Linked DNA regions of Homo sapiens: all the other regions are linked to region 4. The links are contacts of gene promoters, found by promoter capture Hi-C in blood cells and fetal thymus (Javierre and others, 2016). All regions are on one chromosome and are shown on one strand. The core of a region is centred on a gene start or on the middle of the fragment in contact, and the rest is flanking DNA. Distances in the headings are between cores, read along the strand shown. Region 1 overlaps ERAP2 (endoplasmic reticulum aminopeptidase 2). Region 2 overlaps LNPEP (leucyl and cystinyl aminopeptidase). Region 3 overlaps ERAP2 (endoplasmic reticulum aminopeptidase 2). Region 4 holds the start of LIX1 (limb and CNS expressed 1). Region 5 overlaps LNPEP (leucyl and cystinyl aminopeptidase). Region 6 overlaps LNPEP (leucyl and cystinyl aminopeptidase).

Evidence for each region. Contacts are between HindIII fragments. The CHiCAGO score rates a contact against its expected background, and 5 or more counts as called.
Region 1: a fragment that was not itself captured here is called in contact with the fragment with the promoter of LIX1 in region 4 in 3 of 17 cell types (fetal thymus, erythroblasts and M2 macrophages); the score reaches 6.1 in fetal thymus.
Region 2: a fragment that was not itself captured here is called in contact with the fragment with the promoter of LIX1 in region 4 in 6 of 17 cell types (M1 macrophages, M0 macrophages, M2 macrophages and 3 more); the score reaches 12.8 in M1 macrophages.
Region 3: a fragment that was not itself captured here is called in contact with the fragment with the promoter of LIX1 in region 4 in 1 of 17 cell types (M2 macrophages); the score reaches 5.2 in M2 macrophages.
Region 5: a fragment that was not itself captured here is called in contact with the fragment with the promoter of LIX1 in region 4 in 2 of 17 cell types (M1 macrophages and monocytes); the score reaches 6.8 in M1 macrophages.
Region 6: a contact is called between a fragment that was not itself captured here and the fragment with the promoter of LIX1 in region 4, in 2 of 17 cell types (M1 macrophages and M2 macrophages). The highest score is 5.9, in M1 macrophages.

The regions. Positions count from the first base shown.
Region 1 is chr5:96,895,059-96,899,614 of GRCh38, forward strand. It overlaps ERAP2 (endoplasmic reticulum aminopeptidase 2), which reads left to right. Exons shown (of 19, transcript NM_022350.5): 7 at 188-301; 8 at 1,315-1,446; 9 at 1,674-1,805. It also overlaps a transcript of ERAP1 not described here. Among named protein-coding and RNA genes, the nearest start is that of ERAP2, 21 kb to the left of the region's middle. RefSeq lists an enhancer at 2,068-2,127. The HindIII fragment of the contact is 2,192 bases long and covers 1,601-3,792 here.
Region 2 is chr5:96,984,355-96,988,580 of GRCh38, forward strand. LNPEP (leucyl and cystinyl aminopeptidase) reads left to right here. Exons shown (of 18, transcript NM_005575.3): 3 at 726-864; 4 at 2,185-2,316. Among named protein-coding and RNA genes, the nearest start is that of LNPEP, 50 kb to the left of the region's middle. The HindIII fragment of the contact is 679 bases long and covers 1,736-2,414 here.
Region 3 is chr5:96,915,724-96,919,798 of GRCh38, forward strand. It overlaps ERAP2 (endoplasmic reticulum aminopeptidase 2), which reads left to right. Exons shown (of 19, transcript NM_022350.5): 18 at 1-46; 19 at 1,739-3,980. The coding sequence ends at 1,882. It also overlaps a transcript of ERAP1 not described here. Among named protein-coding and RNA genes, the nearest start is that of LNPEP, 18 kb to the right of the region's middle. The HindIII fragment of the contact is 5,592 bases long and covers 1-4,075 here.
Region 4 is chr5:97,139,875-97,144,402 of GRCh38, forward strand. LIX1 (limb and CNS expressed 1) reads right to left here and starts at 2,737. Exons shown (of 6, transcript NM_153234.5): 1 at 2,621-2,737. The coding sequence starts at 2,702. RefSeq lists an enhancer at 2,684-2,753. The HindIII fragment of the contact is 8,667 bases long and covers 1,324-4,528 here.
Region 5 is chr5:96,940,355-96,944,399 of GRCh38, forward strand. All of the region lies in intron 1 of LNPEP (leucyl and cystinyl aminopeptidase), which reads left to right. It also overlaps the pseudogene RPS20P16. Among named protein-coding and RNA genes, the nearest start is that of LNPEP, 6.3 kb to the left of the region's middle. The HindIII fragment of the contact is 2,453 bases long and covers 931-3,383 here.
Region 6 is chr5:96,967,711-96,971,958 of GRCh38, forward strand. The region is part of intron 1 of LNPEP (leucyl and cystinyl aminopeptidase); the gene reads left to right. Among named protein-coding and RNA genes, the nearest start is that of LNPEP, 34 kb to the left of the region's middle. The HindIII fragment of the contact is 6,549 bases long and covers 1-4,248 here.

The DNA.
Region 1 (4,556 bases), core at 1,447-3,946, 240 kb before region 4:
AATGTGGTGGTGAGAATAAGAAGGCAAGGAAATCAGTAGAAGAAAATTGTACAGAGAGAAAAGGGTAGCAAAGAGAGAAGAGAGATCCTAACTAATAAAAAAAAAGTTAGTAACTATTGTATTTTTTGCTAAAGTTAATAATTTTTATTTGTTTAACTTCTAATAATATTGAGTTTTTACCTCCTAGTGGTTTGGCAACCTGGTCACAATGGAATGGTGGAATGATATTTGGCTTAAGGAGGGTTTTGCAAAATACATGGAACTTATCGCTGTTAATGCTACATATCCAGAGCTGCAATTTGTAAGTTCACAATTCTGTGTATCATACTATATGGTGTAAAGAATCATCAATTCACTATTAAAATTTCAAGTGAATGTTAAACAGAAAAACTACATAATGTTGTGGTTTTTGAACATATGGCATTTTGTTTGATACACGAAACAGATCACAGAACTGGATGAAACATTGAAGGTTTTAGAAAACAATCAACATAAATCTGTCACCCCAAAGTCTGTAAAGAGAGAAGGCAAACTAATACAAATGTAGAACTGTGTATGTGGGTTGAGAGGAAAGAACATCACTGTTTGTATACATCTGCACAGGAATGCTCATGGCTACTAGGTACTATAGAGAGTTCTCGGCATGTAACCTGAAATCAACATCATTGGGGGTGTACTTTTCTAGAATTTCCAAAGGGTCTGCTGGCTTCCCCAAAATGTGTGAAGGGATTTCTTCAGGTACGTCTTTTTTAAAAACGAATATAGTGGTCTGAACACTACACAAATTTGCATATCAAGGTGGTTAGTAATGGTTAATTAGGTCTTTGGGATATATATTTAGTCCAGTACACTATAGACAGACATGGATTCAAAGTTAGGCTCTTCTTGTTACTGTGTATGTACTGAATTTGTGGCTTAATGCCAAAGCTTTATATATTCTTATTTGTAAAATGCATATACCATATCTCCCTTGCAGAGGTGTTGACAGGATTGCAGATGATAGGTCTAGGCACGTAACAAGTATTCACTAAATGGAAACCATTATTTTATTTCTGTATTCAAGGGCTGGTACATGATAAACATTCAGGCAATGTCTGAAGGAATATTGGATTTGTATCTTTTTAAAGTAGAGAAACTTTAAAAAGATGTATTCCCCTTTGGCCAAAGGGGAATACATACAAGAAAAGAAACATCTCCCAAGAAATATCGATTGAAATCTTACCTCTAAGAACATCTTACTAAACCTACTATGTTTTCTATTGCTTTTACAGTGTCAAATAGAAACTAAAACTAAACATTTTTCTCCCTGTTTAGGATGACTATTTTTTGAATGTGTGTTTTGAAGTAATTACAAAAGATTCATTGAATTCATCCCGCCCTATCTCCAAACCAGCGGAAACCCCGACTCAAATACAGGAAATGTTTGATGAAGTTTCCTATAACAAGGTAGTAAATATCAGGTGCAGGTGGAAGCTCTGCTTTCAGAAGTGTAATAATGACTATAGAATCAGCAGTTTAAGTCACTGGTGCCAGTTCCTGCTACTTGTTTCACTTTTTATTTGTTCACTTTTCAGACATCACACATGTTCCGTAAAATTTAAGCTTCCTTTAAAAACATACCATACTACCATTTTCTTTATCTCTTTTTTCAACTCTTTTGTTTTTTTTTAAAGGGAGCTTGTATTTTGAATATGCTCAAGGATTTTCTGGGTGAGGAGAAATTCCAGAAAGGAATAATTCAGTACTTAAAGAAGTTCAGCTATAGAAATGCTAAGAATGATGACTTGTGGAGCAGTCTGTCAAATGTAAGTCATATGTTGGGTAACGATAGACTGTTATTTAATCTAGAAAGTAACAGAATAATTGTGAATGTTTATAAATAGCTATATATTGTCAGTCAACCATATTTATTCTGCTTGCTATGTTGTCATGGTCTATAGAAGGCAGCACTTCCCTTTTTCCTCTAACACCACACTAGGATGTCACGCTGGGGTGGCCCCAGGGGCTCACTATTTGACCTGACTTTCTTTGGTTTCTCTTCTACGACTAATCCTACACTTTTATGTTCCCTTGATCTAAAATCTTTAAAATGTTGTAATTTCTACCATATAACACCTAATCTCTGGCAAATTTTAAGGTTGTCAACTGTATTCCCCAATGTGTATATATTTGTTGAGCAAAACTAATCTTCTCTCTTATAAGAAGAAATCTTGCTCAATCTCTAGATCATTGTGCCTATATTTCTAGTGCCTTTACTAGCTGAAATGCCCTTTCTTCTTTCCAACAATTCAAATGCCACCCAACTTTTAAGATCCAGCTGAGATTTCACCTCCTCCTTACAGACTGTTCCAGCCCTCATTCGTTTGCCTGTCTGCTAAATTCTTAGCAGTGCACTTATAATCTGTTCCACATAATAGTACCCTCTTTTATTGTTTTTATTAGTTCAATAATGATAATGTGCTTAAGAACAAAAATTGTGTCTATTCTTTTTTTAATGTGATAGCACCTAGCATATGTTGATCTTATAATAGTGATTAATAAGCAGTTAATGATTGATTAAAGAACTTATGGTCTGTCTTTGGGATTCATGTAGATAATAGGAAAGGCAAAGCAGAAAAATTCAGTTAATTCAGATGATTCTAATAATTATTAAAATATTTTAAAATTTCCAACTGCAAAGAAAATAATTTTTTATAGAACCATTAGACCCAGAGAACTCATACCTGTAATTAGAAGAACCCTAAGTCATTGTAGACAGAAGAGATCCTTTCTTTTTTACAAGCACTTGTGTCCCAGGGACAGTAATAATATTGTTTAATATTTCTGCAGCAGTTTACAGTTTAAAGACACTTTCATGGCCGGGTACAATGGCTCACGCCTGTAATCCCAAGACTTTGGGACACCAAGGTGGGTAGATCACTTCAGGTCAGGAGTTTGAGACCAGCCTGGCCAATTCGTGGAACCCCGTCTGTACTAGAAATACAAACATTAGCTTGGCATGGTGGTGCTTGCCTGTAATCCCAGCTATTCGTGAGGCTAAGGCAGGAGAATCACTTGAACCCAGGAGCTGGAGGTTGCAGTGAGCCGAGATTGCACCACTGCACTCCAGCCTGGGTGACAGAGTGAGACTCTGTCTCAATAATAATAATAATAACAATAATTAATAATAAATAAAAAATCAAAGTTAAAGAATAAAAAGCACTTTCATGTTGATTATCTCATTTGATATTTTTGTGCCCTTATAAAGCACACTTATGGTCCAACTGATGTGTGATTTTGTGGTTAAAGAAACAAAATCCAACAATCAAAAATTATTTCACAGCTCCTATTTTTTACTTGCATTTCTTGAAAATCCTGAGACATATTCAAATACATAGTTTTTACTTACAAAAATACTTATAGGCCTGGTGCGGTGGCTCATGCTTGTAATCCCATCACTTTGGGAGACCGAGGTGGGCAAATTGCCTGAGGTCAGTCTGGCCAACATGGTGAAAACCCATCTCTACTAAAATACAAAAAAAAAAAAAAAAAAAATTAGCCAGGTCTGGTGGATCACCTGTAATCCCAGCTACTCGGGAGGTTGAGGCAGGAGAATCACTTGAATCCAGGAGGCGGAGTTGCAATGAGCTGAGATCACACCACTGGACTCCAGCCTGGTGACAGAGTGAGACTCTGTCTTAAAACAAAACAAAACAAACAAACAAACAAAAAACATATAAAGATGCTCTTTACTATCCATTTCCATCACCCACCGTCAGTGGTCCAGACACACTTTCTCCATGCTTCCGCTTAAGCTTCTCAGCACCAAGTATTGTGTTGCTTCTGTCTCTCATCCCTCTCCATTTCCCTCTCCCTTGCCATGTGTGTGTGCATGTATGTATATTTGTAGACATCAGTTTAGCTCCCCTCCAACACGGAAGAATCTATCATTTGGTGTGCATACTGGCAGTAGAGGGTGGGAGTTAAAAAGAAAATTTGGCCAGCAATTACCAGATCATTTTAGGCCAGCAGTGTAAATTCCTGTGTTATTTTTTGTCACATCATGCTTATAATCATCTCAAAAGATAAAGTAATCATCATTACTCTGTGTTTATAAGTGAGAAAACTGATACTAAGGGACAGATTTGCCCAAAGTCACCAAGTCAGTGAGAAAATCAGTACTTAAAATTTGTCTTCTAAGTCCAATAGTTATTCAATTATATCACAGCTAGTTCCTAGTTTTAAGAAAAGTCCCCCATCAATCTTCCCCTAAAGGTCCTAGATTTTGACCAACTCTCTTCTGACACCAAAGGGCCCTGTAGTATTAAAATAATAAATTACTGAAAATATCTTGCCCACCATTGTGTCACATAAAGTCAATTCTAATACATGTCAATAGCAACTTGAGAATGAGAAGAATTAGTTGCTGTTATTTTTCATAAGATCATTTAAAGGCATTTGAGAGCCTTAGCACATTCTTCATTTTTTCTCATTTGCAGTTGCCCTTAAGTACTGGTTATTCAAGGGTCAATTGCCAAGTTGGTACTTTTCTTAATTCTTATTTTATTCCCAGTTAG
Region 2 (4,226 bases), core at 825-3,324, 160 kb before region 4:
GAAGACCTTCCTCTTGAGCCTCAGTAAATTTACTTAATCTAAATGGGTCCAGGTGCTGGGGTGATTACCCTTATGTTGTCTCCTGCTAAATCACGGAGGTTTGGGGAGTTCCTTCAGACCTCCAGTAATTGTTTGTGGAGGCCTGGGGAGTTTCTTCAGACCCTCCAATAAAACTTATTTAATCCTAAATGGGTCCTGTTAAAAATTCCTTCATTATTTTGTCATGCTTTAAGACCCAGGCAAAACTCTTGGTGGGCTTTTGTTAAATTCCAGCCTTTGTATAAGGGCACTGGCTTTTAATATTTAACTTAACCACTCAGCCAGTACTGAAACAGTTGTTATGGAGGCCTGCGTTAGTGAGATCTGGCTTGCCACACTTGTGTTACCCACTCTTTCCAGAGTATACTTTCTTCCCTTCTTCACCTTTTCAAATACTCATCTTTTTAGGCCCTCTTCAGGTTTTCTGCATGTTTCCTTATAATATCTTCAACCTCTAGTCAGAATTTGTTTCCTTCCCTTTGTTCCCATTGCTTTATTTTCATTGTTAGGACATGACTTACAGCCTGATGTAAGTTTCTGTTCATTGTATAAACCTCTGCCTTTCCCAGTTTATTGCAGATCCTTTAGTAACTAGGATTGTAACATATTTATCTTAGTATACTTGGCAGGGTGCCTTGTACAGTAGGTGCTCAGTAACTACTGGATTGAATTTGTGTTTGTTTTAGGTACTTTGCAGCAACTCAGTTTGAACCCCTGGCAGCAAGATCTGCTTTTCCTTGTTTTGATGAACCAGCATTTAAAGCCACTTTTATCATCAAGATCATAAGGGATGAGCAATACACCGCTTTATCAAATATGCCTAAGGTACTGTTCTGTTCCTTGAATGTAAAAATCTTTGAATGGGTCTCTTTCTTTAAGAACACTTAAATTCCTCTTTGCCAGACTACAGTTGAGAATGATTAAAATCATATACATTAATATTCTTCCTTAAAATACTTAAATAAAAATTAAAATATATTGGCATCAGTTGGGAAGTCACCTTGAGGAGGACTTGAGGAAAGAGAAAGACCTGCTGGACTTGGAATGTGTGGATAGGAAATGTGAGTGTGCATTGTATATTAAGTTGTGCAAATATTAATACAATGAACTAGCAAAAGATTAGAGTAATATTTTCTGAGACAGGATGAATTTGCTATTCTAAACTGTTATTTGAGAGTGTTGAATAATAACTCTTTTTGGTGTTTTATTGGTAAATGAAAAACCAATATTGTTATAATATGGAGATTGACAACTAGAACAGGAGCCTCTTTCTTAGATGTTAGCTCTGTGTGGGATGCAGTGAGGGTGAAACCAATAATTGTTTTTATGCCAAACAAAACCTGGAGCCTAGGGGGTCTTTTTTTGTTTTTTTTTTTTTGGTCTTAGACACCTGAGGGACTGTGCAGCTTGATAGGAGCCTCCTGGACCCATGTGGCTAAGGGAGAGGAGCAGCAGCCATACCCAGCAGGCTATGGAGCCAATCCTGTAGGCAGCAGAGAGCATAATCTGTAACAAGACAGCACTGTACCAGCTTACTCTGCACACTCAGCCATACTCTTCACCTTCATCTTTCTCTAAAGAGGCAGATGCCTACTTTAATTTGTGGTTGGAAAATTCTATAAGGTTGCCTACATTCCCTCATTTTGTGTCTGCTGCAGACTTCTCTAATGACTTACTACTGACTTTGTTCCCACTAAGCTTTCTTGGGGGTCCTCAACATGGCACCCCATGAAGCCATTTCAGATCATTTGAAGGGATGTCGCAGCTAGAGCTCCTTCTGTGGATGTATTTGTAGCAGTAGAGTGGAGCAATCCCAGGTCATAAGGAAGGATTTTGGTTTTGGAGGTGTTCTAATGGGAGAAGCAGAACCAATGTGACTATCTTTAACTTAACATTTATTTGGTCATCTTTGGGACTAAAAACTCCTTGAGGAGTTTCACTGTGCTCCATATGTCCTCAGGATGAAGGATGGTACAACAGACTGAGACTAGGAGCCATGCTCTTTGCAGAAATTCATACTGAGAGGTTATAATATGCTAGCATCTTTACCATTTATTTCCTATTTGAATTTTCAGTTTCTCAGTTTGTTTGTTATTGCCATTTATTCCTATAGTTACAGAACTGTCTTTTCCCCTTTGCTTGTAGAAGTCATCAGTCGTTCTAGATGATGGACTTGTTCAGGATGAGTTTTCTGAGAGTGTGAAGATGAGCACTTACTTGGTTGCTTTCATTGTGGGAGAGATGAAGAACCTGAGTCAGGACGTAAATGGAACCCTGGTATGTTGATGTGGTAATTGTCTGAAAGCCTGTGTCACAAGAGGCTCAGAGGACCTCTTGCTTTAACGATTCCTGGTATTTGCTGTGTGAAATAAATAAGCTTTTAGATCACACTCTGACATTTTATACCAGAAATGCTACTTTTTTGCTTAGCTGTTATTTACTGTTACTAGTTTAATAGCTGAAAGTCAATAATTTTCAAGTTTTAAAAAATTTTACTTTTAAAGAGAATTTTAGTAAGACACTATATGTATACTAAAGCTTTTAGAACTGAGTGGTAGCCACTAGCCTTAGGGGGAATATTTAGATTTAAATAAATAAAAATTAAATACAATTTAAAATTCACTTCCTCAGTCTCACTAACCATATTTCAAGTGTTCAGCAGTGTTCATGTGACTAGTGGCTACATATTCGATAGCTCTAGGTTGTAAAAATTAGATGAGTCCTCCCTTTTTTCAAAGCAAATCCTGATGAGATTCCTCTTCCTAATGAATAAGATTGTCTATTTAGTTAAGGGTCTGGTTTATCTGTATTTTGCCAAAATTAGACTCTTCTGTTTTTCTTTATCATTTGTACCTGTTTGTAAATGATTATTTGATTGGACTTTATACTTTGATTTCATAGTAGAAACCTAATAAAGTTAATTTTTTCAAATACTGACAACATAGAAGGAGAAAAGGCATTCTATCATATTTATTAAACTAAAAACAATTATTCTTGATGATAGAAATATGATAGAATGTCTTAGTTTCTGTTTTCGTATTTTTGAGCTCTACCAGGGAATATACTGCTAGTTTTGGGTTTCCTTTCTAGACTAAAGAGCTTTATATTAATCACAGGATACTTGGATCTTATCATTTTGCTACTTCAAAAGGGTATATGTTTCCTATTAGAAAAGACTATCACGTCTATCCCATACCTTTCAGAGATAAGGACAGAGATAAGGATTCTCTGGTGATTTATCAGTAATAATACTGTATGCCTTTAATGATGCTACTCAAAAAGTAAACTAAGTTTTTAATGGTAAGTGTAGACTGTAATATTAAGCGCTAAATAATGGTTCACTCACCTTTGGATTGAAAGACTTTATGTCAAGGATTTTTCAGAATCCTTTCAAAAGGATATTATAACTGGCTTAAATCTGAAATAATTCAATTAATTCCACTTCAGGTGTTGCACTACATATTTAGCCTTTGATTTAGAGTTTGCAGCCTTGATAAAGCCTAAGAAGCCCAATCTAAAAGAGTCAGGTTTGCTGCTGCTTCAAGACTCAGCTGAATACTACGTTCTCCATGAAGCATTTCTTTCTTTCCCCAGCTGGAATTAATCATTCCCTCTCTGATCTTTCATAGCACTTTAATTATCTCTTTTTTGTAGTTCTTAATACTCATTGGTATAAAACCCCCAGCACTTTTTATGTATCCCAAAATGTATGCAGTCTTGGCATTTTCCCCCCTTCTTTTCTTCCTTCCTCTTCACTCTCTCTCTTCCTTTTTCCCCCTTTCTCTCATCTGCTGTGTTTGCTTCACACTACCTGTAGGATTACATTCAGATTCATCATTTGATAATCAAGGCCTTCCTTATAAATTCAGCAATATTTCTTTTCTTGTTTAAAATTTATTTTTTCCACCCATCTGCACACTGATCTTTCTTTTTTCTTTTTCTTTTCTTTTTTTTTTTTTTTTGAGACAGAGTCTCGCACTGTCGCCTGGGGTGGAGTACAAGTGGCACAATTTCGGTTCACCACAACCTCTGCCTCCCGGGTTCAAGCAATTCTCCTGCCTCAGCCTCCTGAGCAGCTGGGATTACAGGTGCCCTCCACCACGCCCGGCTAATTTTTTGTATTTTTGGTAGAGATGAGGTTTCATTATTTGGCCTGCTGGTCTCTAACTCCTGACCTTGTGATCCGC
Region 3 (4,075 bases), core at 1,405-3,904, 220 kb before region 4:
CTCTGGCACAACAGCTCACTTTTCTTCCAAGGATAAGTTGCAAGAGGTTTGTGACTTTCTGTTTTTAACAATTTCAAAATAAATGTTCAAATTGTGGAATTGAAAGTAAACTTAGATATAATCTGATTTGAAGTTCTCATTTTAGTTTTTAAAAAAGTTGTTTGTCCAATGCCATATAGCAAGTAAATGGAAGGGACAGGATTAAAACCTGACACTTGGCCAGGCACAGTGGCTCACACCTGTAATCCCACCACTTTGGGAGGCCAAGGCAGGTAGATCATGGGGTCAGGAGTTCGAGACCAGCCTGGCCAATATGGTGAAACCCTGTCTCTAATAAAAATACAAAAATTAGCAGAATGTGGTGGCACGCACCTGTAGTCCCAGCTACTTGGGAGGCTGAGGCAGAAGAATCACTTGGACCCAGGAGGCGGAGGTTGCAGTGAGCTGAGATCACACCACTGCACTCCAGCCTGGGTGACAGAGTGAGACTCCATCTCAAAAAAACAAAAAACAAAAACAAAAACAAAAAACAACAGCAAAAAAAAGCCCCTGACTCTTAAAATACTTAAAATACGTGTATTCATAGCATTCAAAATGAAAATAGACTTGAGAGGTGAGCCCTTTTGTATTATTTCTTTCATATTGTATTACGATGCAAGAGTGATTATATTAAAGTTTGGAAGCGTACTTAATGATCTTTTTAACAAAACTATTGTTGGTAATTCTAGTTATCTTTTTTTTTTTTTTTTTTTTTTTGAGGCGGAGTCTTGCTCTGTTGCCCAGGCTGGAGTGCAGTGGCTTGCGATCTCGGCTCACTGCAAGCTCCGCCTCCCAGGTTCACGCCATTCTCCTGCCTCAGCCTCCCGAGTAGCTGGGACTACAGGAGGCTGCCACCATGCCCACCTAATTTTTTTGTATTTTTTTTTAGTAGAGATGGGGTTTCACTGTGTTAGCCAGGGTGGTCTCGATCTCCTGACCTCGTGATCCACCCACTTTGGCCTCCCGAAGTGCTGGGATTACAGGCGTGAGCCACCAGCCTATCTTTTTTTTTTTTTTAAAGCATTATAGTCTTTGCACCTTCTTTTCACAATAAATCTTGAATTTATTTACCCTTTAGGCAAATTCAGAATTCCTGAACTTAAATCCCAGCTCACCATTTACTCTATGACTTGGGTAAATCATTTAACTTCTTTAGCCACATTGTGGTCACTTGTAAGATGAGGATTTATAATTTTTGTCTTACTTTACCTATTGTTTGAAAATAAAGTGAACAATTATGCAGAAAAGTAGAAAATAACCTTTTAGAGGTTGGCAGAGAAATGCCTATACCTGTGTGTATGTAATTTGCAAGCTCTTTTGAAAATTTTTGGAAGACGAAGTGGTTTTATTGTTTCTTTATTTTTGAAACTGCCTCGCTCTGTCAGCCAGGCTGGAGTGCAGTGGCACCATCTTGGCTCATTGTAACCTCCACCTGCTGGGTTCAAGCAATCCTCCCGCCTCAGCCTTCCAAGTAGCTGGGACTACAGGCATGCACCATCATGTCCGACTAATTTTTGTTGTTGTTGTTGTTATTTTTTGTAGAGTCAGGGGTTCTGGCATGTTGCCTAGGCTCGTATTGAACTCCTGAGCTCAATTGATCTGCCCACCTTGGCCTCCCGAAGTGCTGGGATTACAGGTGTGAACCACCACACTCGGCCAAGACAAAGTGTTAGTAATTTTTTTCTTCAATATTTTACAGGTGAAACTATTTTTTGAATCTCTTGAGGCTCAAGGATCACATCTGGATATTTTTCAAACTGTTCTGGAAACGATAACCAAAAATATAAAATGGCTGGAGAAGAATCTTCCGACTCTGAGGACTTGGCTAATGGTTAATACTTAAATGGTCAATAGAAAAAGTAGGCTGGGCGCGGTGGCTCACGCCTGTAATCCCAGCACTTTGGGAGGCTGAGAAGGGCGGATCACGAGGTCAGGAGATGGAGACCATCCTGGCTAACACGGTGAGACCCCGTCTCCGCTAAAAATACAAAAAATTAGCCGGGCATGGTGGCAGGTGCCTGTAGTCCCAGCTACTCGGCAGGCTGCAGCAGGAAAATGGCATAAACCCGGGAGGTGGAGCTTGCAGTGAGCCGAGATTGCACCACTGCATTCCAGCCTGGGTGACTGAGCGAGACTCTGTCTCAAAAAAAAAAAAAAAAAAAAAAAGAAAAAGAAAAAGAAAAGAAAAGAAAAGGTACATCAGACATGACTGCCTGCATGAAGTCAAACAGGGTAACACCAGTGAAGCTCAAGTCAAGAGCTGTGGATATTTTGTCTAACCAACAAGAAGTCTCAAGAAATCAGGCAGTGCAGCTGCCTGCTCTCAGCTATCGTATCCAGCCAAAAGATGCATGATGATGGAGTGGTGGGGGAAGGCCAGTTCAGTATCCTATTTAAAAGTAAACTTCCTGAATAATGGATATATGTGGAGATACAGACATAGATATATAGATACAGCTGTAATTATTTAGCCTCAAGTGACTTTCTCCATTGCTTCACGCTATGCCACTATTTTGCTTCTTTAATTTTTTTAACCTTGCTTAGTATTCTATAGTTTGCCCAACCAGTTTTACGTCCAAGGAAAATTAGCCAATGCATAAAATATACAAACTATGAAAGGCAAGGATCAGGAAACCAGAGACTTTGCCACCAAATCTCAGATTATTAGAAACTAGGTGTCAGGGTTTATCAAGAAGGCCAGGAAGGCCTTTTGGGTTAAGCCTTACATTCATGAAGAACCTCAAGGGTAGATTTTTGAGAGCATTCCAAATGAATGGTCTCTGGTCAAATGAATGAATGGTCAAATGAATAAATCTGCCCTCACAGAGATACAAAAGGAAAAGGAATATAATTCATACCATTTGGTTTAAGCCTTACATTCATGAAGTACCTCAAGGGTAGATTTTTGAGATCATTCCAAATGAAGTCGAATCTGCCCTCACAGAGACACAAGAAAGGAATATAATTCATACACTATTGCATTTTTAATAAATCTTTTGAAATTTGCAGAATTAGATTGTATTGTGTATTTTCGGTTAAATGATAATTGAATGTAAATATTTAGATGCAGCACCATATTTTATAACCCAGCTTTAGCATTTCTTCATATTTTAAGGAAACCCCCCACCTCCTTCTTTTAAGGGCGCTTCTTGCTCTCTGAAATGCCCTGCTAAATGCTTCTCTTAATTATTTGAATAAGGTAGTTTGGAATAAAGAAAGAAAAGATCACTCTACATACAGATAGTAAACTTAATTTGTGATCCTATATATGAGACAGTATAAAAATACAGATAAGTTTTAGAAAGACTCAAAACAATATGTAAATGACTGATGTTTGCATTATTAAGGAAGACTTGGGATGTTGGGTCAAGAGGGGAAAGTGTTAGTCAATCCACTTTGGAGCAATATCATGAAGGTCAATTATAATTCCATATACCTTTCTTTGATGCCACAGTCAGAGATAGAATACAGTTTGGGTGGCCATGGATGTGCCCCAATACAGTACACATTTTTTGGTTAAATTTGTTTTCAGATCATTTCATGGAATCTTTGAAGTATCTTTGACTCTAACTTTGACTTGGTGGTGGACCTTCCTTGGTTTTTATAACACCTAAGAGATATCCTTTAGAATTACATGTATTTTAGCATAAGGAAATTGAAAAAGTAAAACATACTGGTTTTTTTCAACAAGACCATATGTAAATTAAATAGTGAAATGTGTATGAGTTTCAGTAGAACTGTACCATCAACAATGTTTCCATAAATATGCAGAGTTCTTTCTTTTGTATTGTTATTTACAATATTGTTAAATTGAATGCATTTGCAATTTCTAGGATTCTAAAGAATTGAGTACAGAAAGTAGCAATTTTATTATTTGATGATAATATGAGAATTACTGTGCCAATACTGTTTTGATAAATAAATAGATTTTTAAAAATAAATGTATTGTACTTATTAGTGTAGTATTTCAAAAGCCTTGTGGTAGATGCCAGGCCACCAACACCAACTTCAGACTTGGTTGTGTTACTTTTACTTT
Region 4 (4,528 bases), core at 1,487-3,986:
CCTTGTATAAAATAAAATGACAGGTTTAATGTATTGCAAAATACCATTTGAAGAGCTTCCTCATCTGAGAAAGCATTTGAATTTTATTTCTTTAAATGAATGTAACTATTCCCATGTGCATCTGTTTCAGACCAGAAAACTCTCTGGGTGCTTTTTCTAACCAACTTGAAGAGAAAATTCAGTTACTATTGCTTGTTTTTAAGCAAATCAAAAGCCAACTGAGGGCAATAAATGAATTGCATGATCATTTACACTCCCTGGATTATGTATAACCAAAGAGTGAAGAGAGAAAAACTGTGTTTGCATTCATGGAAGATAAATTAAGAAAAAATTTAAAAGTGTTTTGTGTGTGCATGTGTGTGTGTTTGTGTGTTTGTGTGTGTTTATTCTTTTGTTCAACTGGGCTGGGTTTTAAAAATTCTTGGATCAGCTTTCATCTTGTAGGAAAGTAAGGTAGCAATTTTTCTTAAGGAATTGGCAGTGATGTGCTCAAGTGCTCAGCTCTTTCCTTCTGGCAGAAAGAGCTTGGAGCAGGTTAGAGTGGAGGAGGAGCCAGCAGTGACTAGGAGGAGAGGGGACTGCTCAGAACCTGCCATTCAAGGCTGGTGGCAGCTTTTTACAGGCTGCCAATAGGAGTGTGGTGGCAGCAACTTATGGGTATGCCAAAGAAAATGGGACCATATGCCAAACTCTGGCGTGTGCAGCACCTACAGCTTGCCAGGGCAATGGCATAGGCTCCAGACAGACTTTTAATGTCCTGTCCCAGAAAGTAAGCAGCCCATTCCCACTTATTCCACGAGATTGGTAAGTGGTTGGATGTTTTAAAGTTAGGAAAACTCCTGGTACAGAAATGTGCCATTTGGCTTACTGTCATTTAGTCATTTTTCAGATTAGAAAAGAAGGGAGAGAATCGGCAGTTTAATATTCACGTCTATTAAGCCATGCAAGCAGTTGCCGAGTAGCAGTCCATTCTAGGGTAAACAGGCAATGCTCTCTGGTCAAATATAGGTTCTATGTTAATGAATGAAATATATAAAACAGGACACTTATTTGTTCTCCCATATAAAAGAAGTCCTGCAAAGTCCTGGATGACAGAACTTAATGTATGCTTTATTGTAATCCTTTTTCTAGTCTATCTTCTTTTCTAAACTGTAAACAATCGCAGCAATTTAGTTCAGCTAAAAAATGAGCTATACAGTTTCACATTTGAACTTATTAAGTTTTCAATGGGCCAGTGAAAAACGTCCCCCCTATTTTTTTTTTAACTGCTTCCCCTATTTAAATGCTCAGCATAAGAACCCTGGTCCTATACAATTTATCCAAAGCTTGGGCAGCCCGAGAGCCCTTTTATCCCTCACTAGTGAATCAGTTCTATTGTAGGAGAGAGACATTCTTTCCTCCCCTTTTCGCTTAAAAAACATAACAAACCTGAATAGACTCCAGGCTAGAGTAGTGGAGAGAGTGATTTTTATTAGATCTAACATAGTTATTGGCAAATGCCTAAAGACAATATTTAAAAAGAGAGCTAGAGAAAGAAAAGGCTTTCACTTTATGCCTTAAAGGACAGATTGGTTACAATTTAACATCTAAGAGGAAAAATTTATAGAATTAAATGGCCTAACATTCCTCTTTCTTCAACATACATATGAGAAATCTAAGCTAAGAGGACATCTGGAATGGAACGTTATTCAGCAATCAGAAAGCAAAAATTCAAACCATTGATGTTTTGATGGAGACAAACACAACTAGATTCACAAAGAGGAAAGCTGCAACCTATTGAAGTTAAAAAAAATTCCATATGCATTTTACCTTTTGGGCAGTTCTATTTCAGAAGCCCTTTGTAATATGAAACCCACTGTAGATAAGATACAACATGAAGATAGTCTGTTTTGCAGCAGCAGGAAATCAAATTGGTTCCAGAAACGAAGTTATATGACAAATGGTTTAATAGTATTGCTAGAATTGGAAATCTTGATTGAATTATTTTTAAATCATTAAAAAAAAGATTTTGAAATAACTTTGCCATGCTGTATAAATTGGTGATGGTGGTAGGGGGTCCACACAGGGAGTGTTGCTGAGGTTAGGAGGCATCTCATTTTATTGGCCTTTTAACTAAAGCATTATAATCTGTTATCAAAATTTAAAAGTTCAGTGGTGATTTACTGTTAATTCTGGTTTGCAACAAATATTTTCAGACAAACACGATACTTGAATTAACATAGCTAATATGTGTTGTGGAGTATTAAACAGGTTAACAAATATTGATATATTCTAGTATCATTTCCAAATTATTTTTAGGTTTAATCTCAACACCAGTCAGCTTTGCTTTACTTAAAAAGCATCAGAAAAAGTTCATTAAGTCTTAGGCAGGTCTTGGATTGTAGAAGAGACTTCTAAGTAGTTAGCAAGATGTATCACTGACAGAATAACCCAGTGCCTAATGCCTGTAGGTGAAATGAAATCGTTCTTCTGGCTGAAGTCAGGAACAAGTTAAAATATCACTTAGAACACAGCATACGACTGCAGAGATTTAGGAGAAATCTTACTTAAATAGGATGTGACTTGACGTTTAGGACTATTTTCTAAAAAGTCAAAAAACTTTTCCCCCTTCAGTACTTACAGTCTTTGAAGACTAGAGCCGGATCTCTGTGAGGCAAGACTTGGGCAATGATGTGTCTCAGAGATTCCAAGGTTCTGTCCATCTTGGGTCTGCCTGTGTGAGCCTCCTGTACAGAGTGTCCTCATGCCTGAATTCTTGCAGTCCTGGGCTGAATTTCTGCAGCTCATTGATGCACTGGATTACCAAGGAATCCCTTTTAACATCTGCCAATCAGACATTTCCCAGAATCTAAAGACCCCTCAGGGGGCCCTCTTCCCAGGCTCACTTATCTTTGTTGTATGCTGAGCTAATTAGCTCGAAAGGCTGGCTGACAGGCGGGTTCCCATTGCTTTCTTCTGTTAAACACACCCACCTACAGGCTAGCTGGGGAAGCTCGCTAAATTATGAAAACAGCTTTCCTCTCCAACCAGATTTTGTCTGAATGCTGTGCAGCTTTCTGACTTGAGTATTTCTTCTGGCCCTCCATCTTCAATTGTGTTGCCCCCAGGAATATGGAATCAGGAAGGTTATTTCTCCAGGAAATTTCCTGAATGACAAGACAGCTTCCAGCTCAGGACTGCCAGCTATATGTTAACAGTATAATCCCTATAAATCTAAATTTTCAGTGTAATTCTTCTTTGGTAAAGGAGTGCTATAAAGATTATGGGGCTGGGTGCAGTTTATCATGCCTGTAATTCCAGCACTTTGGGAGGCTGAGGCGGGCAGATCGCTTGAGCCCAAGAGTTCCAGACCAGCCTGGGCAACATGGCGAAACCCTAACTCTACAAAAAATACAAAAATTAGCTGGGTGTGGTGGTGCATGCCTGTGATCCCAGCTACTTGGAGGGCTAAGGCAGGAGGATGGTTTGAGCCTGGAAAGTCGAGGCTGCAGTGAGCCCAGATTGTGCCACTGCACTCCAGCCTTGGTGACAAAGTAAGACCCTGTCTCAATTTTTTAAAAAAATCTTTCAATAACTACCTTAAGAAACATATATGTATTTTCTCGTCCTGTTTCTTTGTTTTATTTTTCTTTTTAATAGGGTCTCATACTGTCCTCCAGGCTGGAGTGCAGTGGCGTGATCATAACTCACCGCAGCCTTGACTCAAGTGAGGGGCTTGAGCCCTGGACTCAAGCAATCTTCCCATCTCAGCACCCCAAGTAGTTGGGAGGCACACGCCACCACGCCTGGCTAATTTTTAAATTTTCTGTAGAGATGGGGTCTCACTGTGTTGCCCAGGCTGGTCTCAAACTCCTGGGCTCAAGCAATCATCCTGTCTGGGCCCCCAAAGTGCTGCGATTACAGGCGTGAGCCACTGCACCCTGCCCTGAAATTTTTAATAATTATTAAGTGAAAGGAAGTGAATTACATCAGAATTAATTAAAGTCAACCTTGGGAATGATTCACTTTGAAGGGTAAATAGGGAAACAAATGTTCCCAGGCAAGCTGTAAGACAGTCTGTCAGGTTTTACTTGCCCCTGCCCAATAGAAGTGACTAAAATTTGGGAGGGTTGTGGGGGGTAACAAGCCTTGGCTTCCAGAAGAGTGGCTCCTGAATTCAAATGCAAGGCTTAATTTAGTCCCTAGCTGTATCCTTTTTTTTTTTTTTTTTTGAGACAGAGTCTCACTTTGTCATGCAGGCTGGAGTGCAATGGCATGATCCGGGCTCACTGCAGCCTTGACTTCTCAGTCTCAAACGGTCCTCCCACCTTAGGCTTTCTAGTAGCTGGGACCACAGGCCCACGCCACCGCACCTGGCTAATTTGTGTATTTTTAGTAGAGAGGGGGTTTCACCATGTTGCCCAGGGTGGTCTCAAACTCCTGGCCTCAAGTGATCCACCCATCTCGGCCTACCAAAGTGCTAGAATTACAGGCATGAGCCACCATGCCTGGCCTTTAAAGATCTTAAGAAAACAGAAATTCTTTTTCT
Region 5 (4,045 bases), core at 907-3,406, 200 kb before region 4:
TGGTAATTTTCTGCTCAGTAATTCAATCATACAGCTATCTTTTGAATGCCCATTTACAAGTAGATTTTCTGCTAGACACAGTTACATTAAAAAAAAAAAACCCACAACCTCGTCATCAGATAATGCTTACCTAAATAAGAGAAATGAATAGAAGAACCTAGTTTTGTTGTCATGCTAATATGAAATATGGAAACACAGAAGAAATAAAAAAGCAATAAAGTTTTGTCTAAGACAGTATTCTAATTATGAAATAAATGTACAGAAACTGTTCATAACTGTTTGCATGTCTACTAATTTAGTGTAATACTCCTATTAGGAAACAGCAGTATTAACCCTGTCTATGAAAACATTAGGAAATTGAGATTTGAAAGAGTTTAGCCAAGATTACCCCAGATGTTGGGATGGACCTAGATGAGGCCTGTGGTTCTTGGCAGTCGAGGTGAGGTCAGTGCAGCTATGTTTTGTCAATTAGTCACCTCATGACTTGAAAACTGTAGGGCAGCAGTCCCCAAACTTTTCGGGACCAGGGACCACAGTCGGGGGGATGTATGTATACTTTCTAGTTTGTGATATATTCTAAAGGGGAGAAGGTTTGGGGATGACTCAAGTGCATTATATTTATTGTGCACTTTATTTCTATTATTATTGCATTGTAATATACAATGAAATAATTATACAACTCACCATAATGTAGAATCAGTGGGAGCCCTGAGCTTGTTTTCCTGCAAGTAGACAGTCCCATCTAGGAGTGGTGGGAGACAGTGACAGATCAGGCATTAAATTCTCAAAAGGAGCACACAACCTAGATCCCTCACATGCGCAGTTCACAATAGGGTTCGTGCTCCTATGAGAATCTAATGCCACCACTGATCTGACAGGAGGTGGAGCTCAGGTGGTAATGCTAACGATGGGGACTGACTGTAGAGATGAAGCTTCACTTGTTTGCCTGCTGCTCACTCCTGCTGTGTGGCCTGATTCCTAACAGGCCAGAGACTGGTACTGGTCTGTGGCCTTGGGGTTGGGCAAACCTACTGTAGGGGGCTGGAGTTGAGCTGATACTACTAGGCCTTTCCATAGTATAATTGGAGCAACCAGAAAGACACAGTCTTTTATTTATTTATTTATTATTATTTTTTTAATTTGAATCCGTAGATAAATTTCAGCAACTTTTCTGAAAGTTTGCAAGAAGCCAGGATTGAGAATGAAGGGACATTTTGGAGCCCTTGTGGTGGTACAGTTCTTTTTATATCTAGATCTTGACCTAGATCTACATATGGCCGTTATAGAGAGTGTTGCTTATTGCCTTGGTGTTTCTGGACAGTAAATGGAACATCAAGAGTTCTCTGTGTCCATGGAAGGGTGGACAGGATTCCCTTGTAACCTTATCCATTGTTGTAATTCATTTGTGATTGTCCTAGCAGCACCTGAAGGACTTTGCATTTTACAAAGATGTTTAGAGAAAATTGGAAGAGGAGAATCAATGATGAAGATGAAAGAAATGTGGAGATTGGGGGTAAAGGAAGAAGCTGATAGGCAGAGATTTTAAAAATGGTCATGCCTTGATCCTTGCAAGTCTTTGGTTCAGAAATGAGCTTCAGTTGGAGAGCAGGACACTGTTGTATGAGGTTGAAGACAGAGTCTAGGTTGGAAGGGGACAGGTAGGTAGGTCTGGTTGGATTAATGGAATTGGGGGCTCAGGGGACAAATGAGTTAAGATTGGCATTTGGGAGCCTTGCCAAGAGATAGAAAACATTTGCCAGAAATTTAAGCATACTGTCTTTTTTATAGTCAGAAAATTCAGTCACTCGTAAGTTGGGACTGTTCACTTGTCTGAATGTTTTAGATTTAAAGAAAAAATATAGCTCTTTGATAAACAACGTGGTGTGGAGCTGTGGTAAGCCTGCTCTTGCTCCTGACTCACCGCCGCTCGCTCTCACCAAAAAACAGGTTGGTCAGGAGATACAGAAAAACGCCCATGAAGCCAGAGGTGGCAATTCACTGAATTAGAATCACTCTAGGCCCAGCGCGGTGGCTCACACCTATACTCCCAGCACTTTGGGAGGCTGAGGCAGGCGGATCACCTGAGGTCAGGAGTTTGAGGCCAGCCTGGCCAACATGGTGAAACCCTGTCTCTACTAAAAATACAAAAATTAGCTGAGTATGTTGGCACGTGCCTGAAATCCCAGCTACTCGGGAGGCTGAGGCACAAGAATCACTTGGACCCAGGAGGCGGAGGTTGCAGTGAGCCGAGATCGTGCCACTGCATTCCAGCCTGGTGACAGAGCGAGACTCCATCTCAAAAAAAAAAAAAAAAAAATACGAGAACACTTGGACACAGGGTGGGGAACACCACACACTGGGGCCTGTCATGGAGTCGGGGGAGGGGGGAGGGATAGCATTAGGAGATATACCTAGTGTAAATGACGACTTAATTGGTGCAGCACACCAACATAGCACATGTATACATATGTAACAAACCTGCACGTTGTGCACATGTACCCTAGAACTTAAAGTATAATAAAAAAATAAATAAATAAAAAGAATCACTCTAACGAGCTGCAAGGTAAAATCCTTGGAGAAGGTGTGTGCCGACTTGATCAATGGATCAAAGGAAAAGAATCTAAAGTGATAGGACCAGTTTGAATGCCTACCAAGACTTTGAGAAACATTACAAGAAAAACTTCTTATGAAGGTTCTGAGACATGGTATTGTTTCCAGATGAGAATCCATAAGTGACTCATTGACTTCCACAGTCTTTCTGAGATTGTTAAGCAGATTACTTCCATCATTATTGAGCCAGGAGTTGAGGTTGAAGTCACCATTGCAGATGCTTAAGTCAACTATTTTAATAAATGATTACCAGTTGTTTAAAAAAAAAAAAAAGAAAACTATAGAGAGCTATCTACCTTTTGGGACTACCATGGTAGCAGTCATTTGCTGTTCCTTTTTTTGGGAGGGACGGGAACAGGGTCTTGCTTGGCTGGAGTGCAGTGGCACGGCCACAGCACTGCAGCCTTGACTTCTCAGGCTCAAGCGATTCTCCTGCCTCAGCCTCCCGAGTAACTGGGACCACAGGTGCACACCACCATGCCTGGCTAATTTTTGTATTTTTTGTAGAGATGGAGTTTTGCCATGTTGGCCAGGCTGGTCTCGAACTCCTGGGCTCCAATGTTCTGCCTGTCTTGACCTCCCCAAGTGCTGGTACTATAGGTGTGAGCCAGTGCGGCCCTGTGGCCAGCCTACTATTCTTTATAGCCTGGCTTTGCTTCACTTTTCTACTGGTGCTTGTGATAGAACAATGAACCAATTAATTTTTTTAAAATTCCATCCTTAACATGTAAATGAGGAGGAAACCAGGTCATTTGCCAAATAAGGAAAATTCAAGCTTCCAAGGGAGTTTCAAAAAACAATGGAGGATCAAGTTCAATTGTAGGAGACTTTTTGAAATTCTTTTTCTTCTAATACATATTGCTTAATGAAGGTACTCCTGGGCATTCCACATATTTCAAAAATGTAGTCACTGAACCAGAACTTGAATCAGTTGTCTGAATTTCTCTGGATTGTGGGGCTCAGAGTCTTCTCCAGCCAATGATCTGGGGTGAAGGAAGTTAAAGAAGGCTTCTTCAACTGAGGGAACAGAAGAATGAGGAGTGCAGTGAGAAAAGGATGCCTCTATGGGTTGGGTGTGCTCCCTTCCTCTTGCAGCAAGTGATGAACAGTGCTATGTGGGAGCATTTCCCGGACAACTGACTCAGGTGTCATTCAGTGCCATAGAGAAAATTTCTGGTAAGGAAGGAGGCTTAAGCCATAGTATTTCTCACAGCTGAAACTGTTATTTTGTCAAATTTAAAACAGTTGTTAGTATATTCATCAATGAAACATCATTACATTGTCAATGAAACATTTCATTGTCAATGAAAAGAGTCAAACTGTAAAATCTTTAAAGAGGCTTATTCTGAGATAAATAATGTGTGACCAAGGCCCAAAGCACAGTCTCAAGAAGTCCTGAGAACATGTGCCCAACATGGTTGGGTTACAGCTTGAT
Region 6 (4,248 bases), core at 1,092-3,591, 170 kb before region 4:
AGTAAACCTGGATTCAGCCCTTGAAGAGTTTATGCATGGACATGGAGGTAATTTTTGTTTATACTTCATTTTAATATATTAGATTATTGCTACTTTCATTTCAACATTTATGGCAGGTTTCTTCCCTGCTAGGCACCAGGAATACAAAGATGAATGAGGTTATGAACCTCTCCTTGGAGGAATTATTCATATTTGGAGCAAAATTTATAATTGCAGTTTACTTATGCAGAAATTCTTTTTTTCTACAGCATAAACCGGGCCTTGAGAGTTTCCTAAACCTTCTATCCTCAACTTCTAATTCTTGAACAGCAAAAAGTTACCAGGATTGAAATGTATCCGTTATTCTAGAAAAGTAAATGTAGAGCAGGTTTTGGAACTCAATATTTCATCCTAAATGTGAAAGACTGTATAGGCAAATAGTGTGCATAATTTCCTTTTTCCAGGGTTGAGGGGCTGCCAGTGGTGTGTAGTGGGGAGAGAGTGAAGTGACTCATAATTCTGGAATGATTGTTTTGATCTCCTCCTGTAGCCTCTGTAGGATACTGGCAGGGCAACCAGCATAATTAACACTACACAGTCTAATTATAAACAAAACTCTATGTACAGTGGCTACCAAGAAGCAAGCCTGTACTGGATAATCCCCCAAGTTGGCAGGATTACTTTTAGAATGATTATTAGATAGTGTCGTTTACTATAAATCAAGTTGTTTTTCTTTGATTGTCCAGGGACTTACCCTGGGGGGAAAGTGAATATAATAATATTTGTGGAAGTCTTCTGGGTTATTTTTTTCAGGGCCCATTTAAGGATTTCTTTATTGCAGTTCTTATAACCTTTTTGTCTTAAGAGAACATTTGTACATCTTACTATGTATGGCGTACTCTTTTAGGGAGAGTAGGAAAATTGGTCAGAGTAAGACATTTGTTCCAATAATAGTTGGATTGGTTTTTTTAAAGGTGAAAGAAACTAGGAATTTGAAAAGATTACATTGGACCGGTATAATAAATAAAGAGGGAGAAAAAAAGCCTATGGGCTGCAGAGAAGAGGATGGGATAAGGGGACAAAGTGAAGTGGCTATAGCTGCCATGCATGCTTGAGAGAAACCAAGATGTTTGTAACATGTGTATGGTCTCACATGCTGTTCAGAGGCAGAGCAGGCACTGTGCGTGGTTGTATGTGCTTTAGGGATTTGTGGAAGCATGGCTGAGAGCTGAGGACCAATTTAGTTTGTTTATATACAGGGCCACTGGGTCTCTTAGATTTAGAACAAAGATCCTAGCTGTGGAGATTTGTTTCACATAGCTGTGACCTGAACAACTGCAGAATGGTTATATTTATGCAAAATGAGCCTCAGAATTGTGATTACCTCAAATGAAGTAAGAATTTTAAATCAGATACTTCAAAATGAGGGCTTTTTTTCCTATCCAGAAAAACTCAGTTAAAATTTAAGTGGACACTTAAAAGGAGTTTCCCTTTTTAAGAAAGAAATACAGAAATCCAAATACAAAAATGAATGTTAAGTAGTTTTTTGCTTAAGAATGCTTGCTTTTTTTTTTTTTAACTTTTGATGAGCTCATAAGAAGTTTCCTTTAAATAGCAGTTCTGTAGTTCATTTTAAATATTTGGATTTACAAAGAAAATTTCCCTAGCTTTTTACTTGAAAGGAGAGGGAGAACATACTGTATTTTTCTAAATTTGGGCATAACTGGTATTATTACTGGCTAAATAATTTTGTGTTTGCCAGATAGTCTTGAAAGAGGGACAGATGTAAGACGGCTGGGCTTGTTAAAAGATCTCTGTCTCTAGCCTGTGACCCAGTTCTGATTTGTCCCTTTAAATTACCTAACTAGACTTTTGAGAAGTGAAAAATTGGTTTTGGAGATGCACCAGGACAATGGTATGTGTGGATTTTTGGGCCAGTTTCTAGGAGAATATGAGTTAGAGCCGTCCACACTACTTTCCTGCCCTCTAGCAGCATTTTTTGCATTATTTTTCAGTTGTTTATCTGGTTTCTATTTTGTTGATTTTTGCCCTGTTTTTTTTTTATTATTTTTTCTACTTAGGTTTAATTTGGTATTCTTTTCTAGGTTCTTAGGGTGGAAATGTCGTTATTTTTAAACCTTTTCCCAATATAGGCATTTAAAGCAATAAATTTTCTTGAATTTTGATATATTATGTTTTTATTATTATTTATTTCAAATATTTTATATATTCCTTGTGGTTTCTTCTTTGACTTATGGATTACTTAAAGTCTTTTGTTTTTATTTTCCAAATATCTAGGGATTGTTTACCTAATTTACTAATTGATTTTTTAATTGTTTCCATTGTGTTTAGAGAACAAAGTCTCTAAAAAGCATATTTCAGTCTTTTGAAGTTGATTGTGATTTATTTTATTTTATTTTGCTTTATTCCATCTTGGTGAATGTTTCATATGTATTTCTGCAGTTGTTTGATTTTATATTCTGTGAATGTCAGGTCAAATTAGTTAATAGTATTGTTCCGATCTTCCGTGACCTTACTTATTTGTTGTCTACTTGTTCTATCAGTTATGAAGAGAAAGGATATGGTTGTGGATGTTTTTGTTTGTTCTATTCTTCATAAAAAACTTCTTTTTGAAACACTGTTATTAGGTATACATATTTAAGATTGATATCCTGCTGAATTTCTCCTTTTATCATCATAAAATATTCTTCTTTGTTAATCTATTTGTGTCTAAATTTAAAATGCATCTCTTACAGACAGTGTATATAGTTGTTTCTTGCTGTTTTGTCCCCATTGTGACAGTCTCTGTTACAATGTTTAATCCATTTACAGTTAATGCATAGGTCAGGTTTAAGTCTACCATGTTGCCACTGTTTTCATTTGTTCCTTTTGTTTTTGTTTATCTGTTTCTCCTTTATTCATTTTTTTTGGATTAAGTGGGCAATTTTAGTATTTCATTTTATTTTCTCTATTGGATTCTTAACTATGCATCTTTTTAAAATCACTTTTTCAGTGTTTCTTCTAGGATTAATAATATGCATCATTAAGTCTGTGTATAGTCAGTATTGTACCATTTCACATTCTATACCTGACCCTTCTTCCTTTCTGCTTAATTTCTCTTACTCAACTTCTGTATTCTCTGTGCTTTTGTTGTCTTTTATTTTTTGGTTTTAAGCATACAGTTTTTAAAGATAGTCTTTTAAGGAAATTATAAGAAGAATAAAGAATGTACACCTTTTATTTTAACATGTATTATTTCTGGTATTCTCTCCTTCCTGAAGATCTGAGTTTCCGTCTGGTAGTAGTTCCCTTCATCCTGAAGAACCTCCTTTAAAATTTCTTGTAGTATACATCTACTTGAGGAAAATGTGTTCTAAATGAATTCTGTAAGCTGTCATTTATTTGAAAATGTCTTTTACTCTTGATTTTGAAGCATATTTTCACTGTATGTGCAAAGTTGAGTTTAGAATTTTCTTTGTCTTCCAACTCTTTAAAAATGCTCTATCATCTTCAGGCCTCCACCGTTGACATGAGAAGTTAGTGTATGTACTGTTGTTCATCTGTATGTAGCATTGTTTCCAGGTTCTCTTAAAGGTTTTCTTTTTATCTTTAGTTTTAAGCAGTTTTGACCATGATGTGCTTAAGACATTATTATTTGTGTGTGTGTGTGTGTGTGTGTGTGTGTGTGTGTGTGTATTTATCTTTTTGGGGGTTTGCTGAACATTTTGGATCTGGTAAGTGGTGTTTTTCATCAAACTTAATAATATTTTAACTATTATTTCTTCAGATATTTTCTTCTGCTGCATTCTCACACTCCTTCTGTGGCTCCTGTTAGATACATGTTAGACTGTCTGATACTGTCCCCCAGATCCCTGATGCTGTGTTTATTTTTCTTCAATCCTTTGTCTCATTGTTCTTCAAATTGGTAATTTCTAATGATCTGTCAAGTTTATGGACTCTTTCTTTTGCTGTCTCCAATCTGCCATTAAGTCCATTTAGTAACTTTTTCATTTTATTTATTGAACCTTTTTCTCCTAGATTTTTCTTTTTTCCCTCTCATTTAGTTCTTTTTTAGTCTTGATTTCCCCACGGAGAGTCTCATCTATTCACATATTCTCATTTTTTCCTTTTTAAAATACATCTTCCTGCTTAATGATGGGGATACAATTGAAAAATAATAAAACACGTCTTCTTCAGGGATTCTTTTTTATTTATAATGGCTACTCTAAAGACTCACTAAATACAATGCAATATCTGGACCACCTTAAG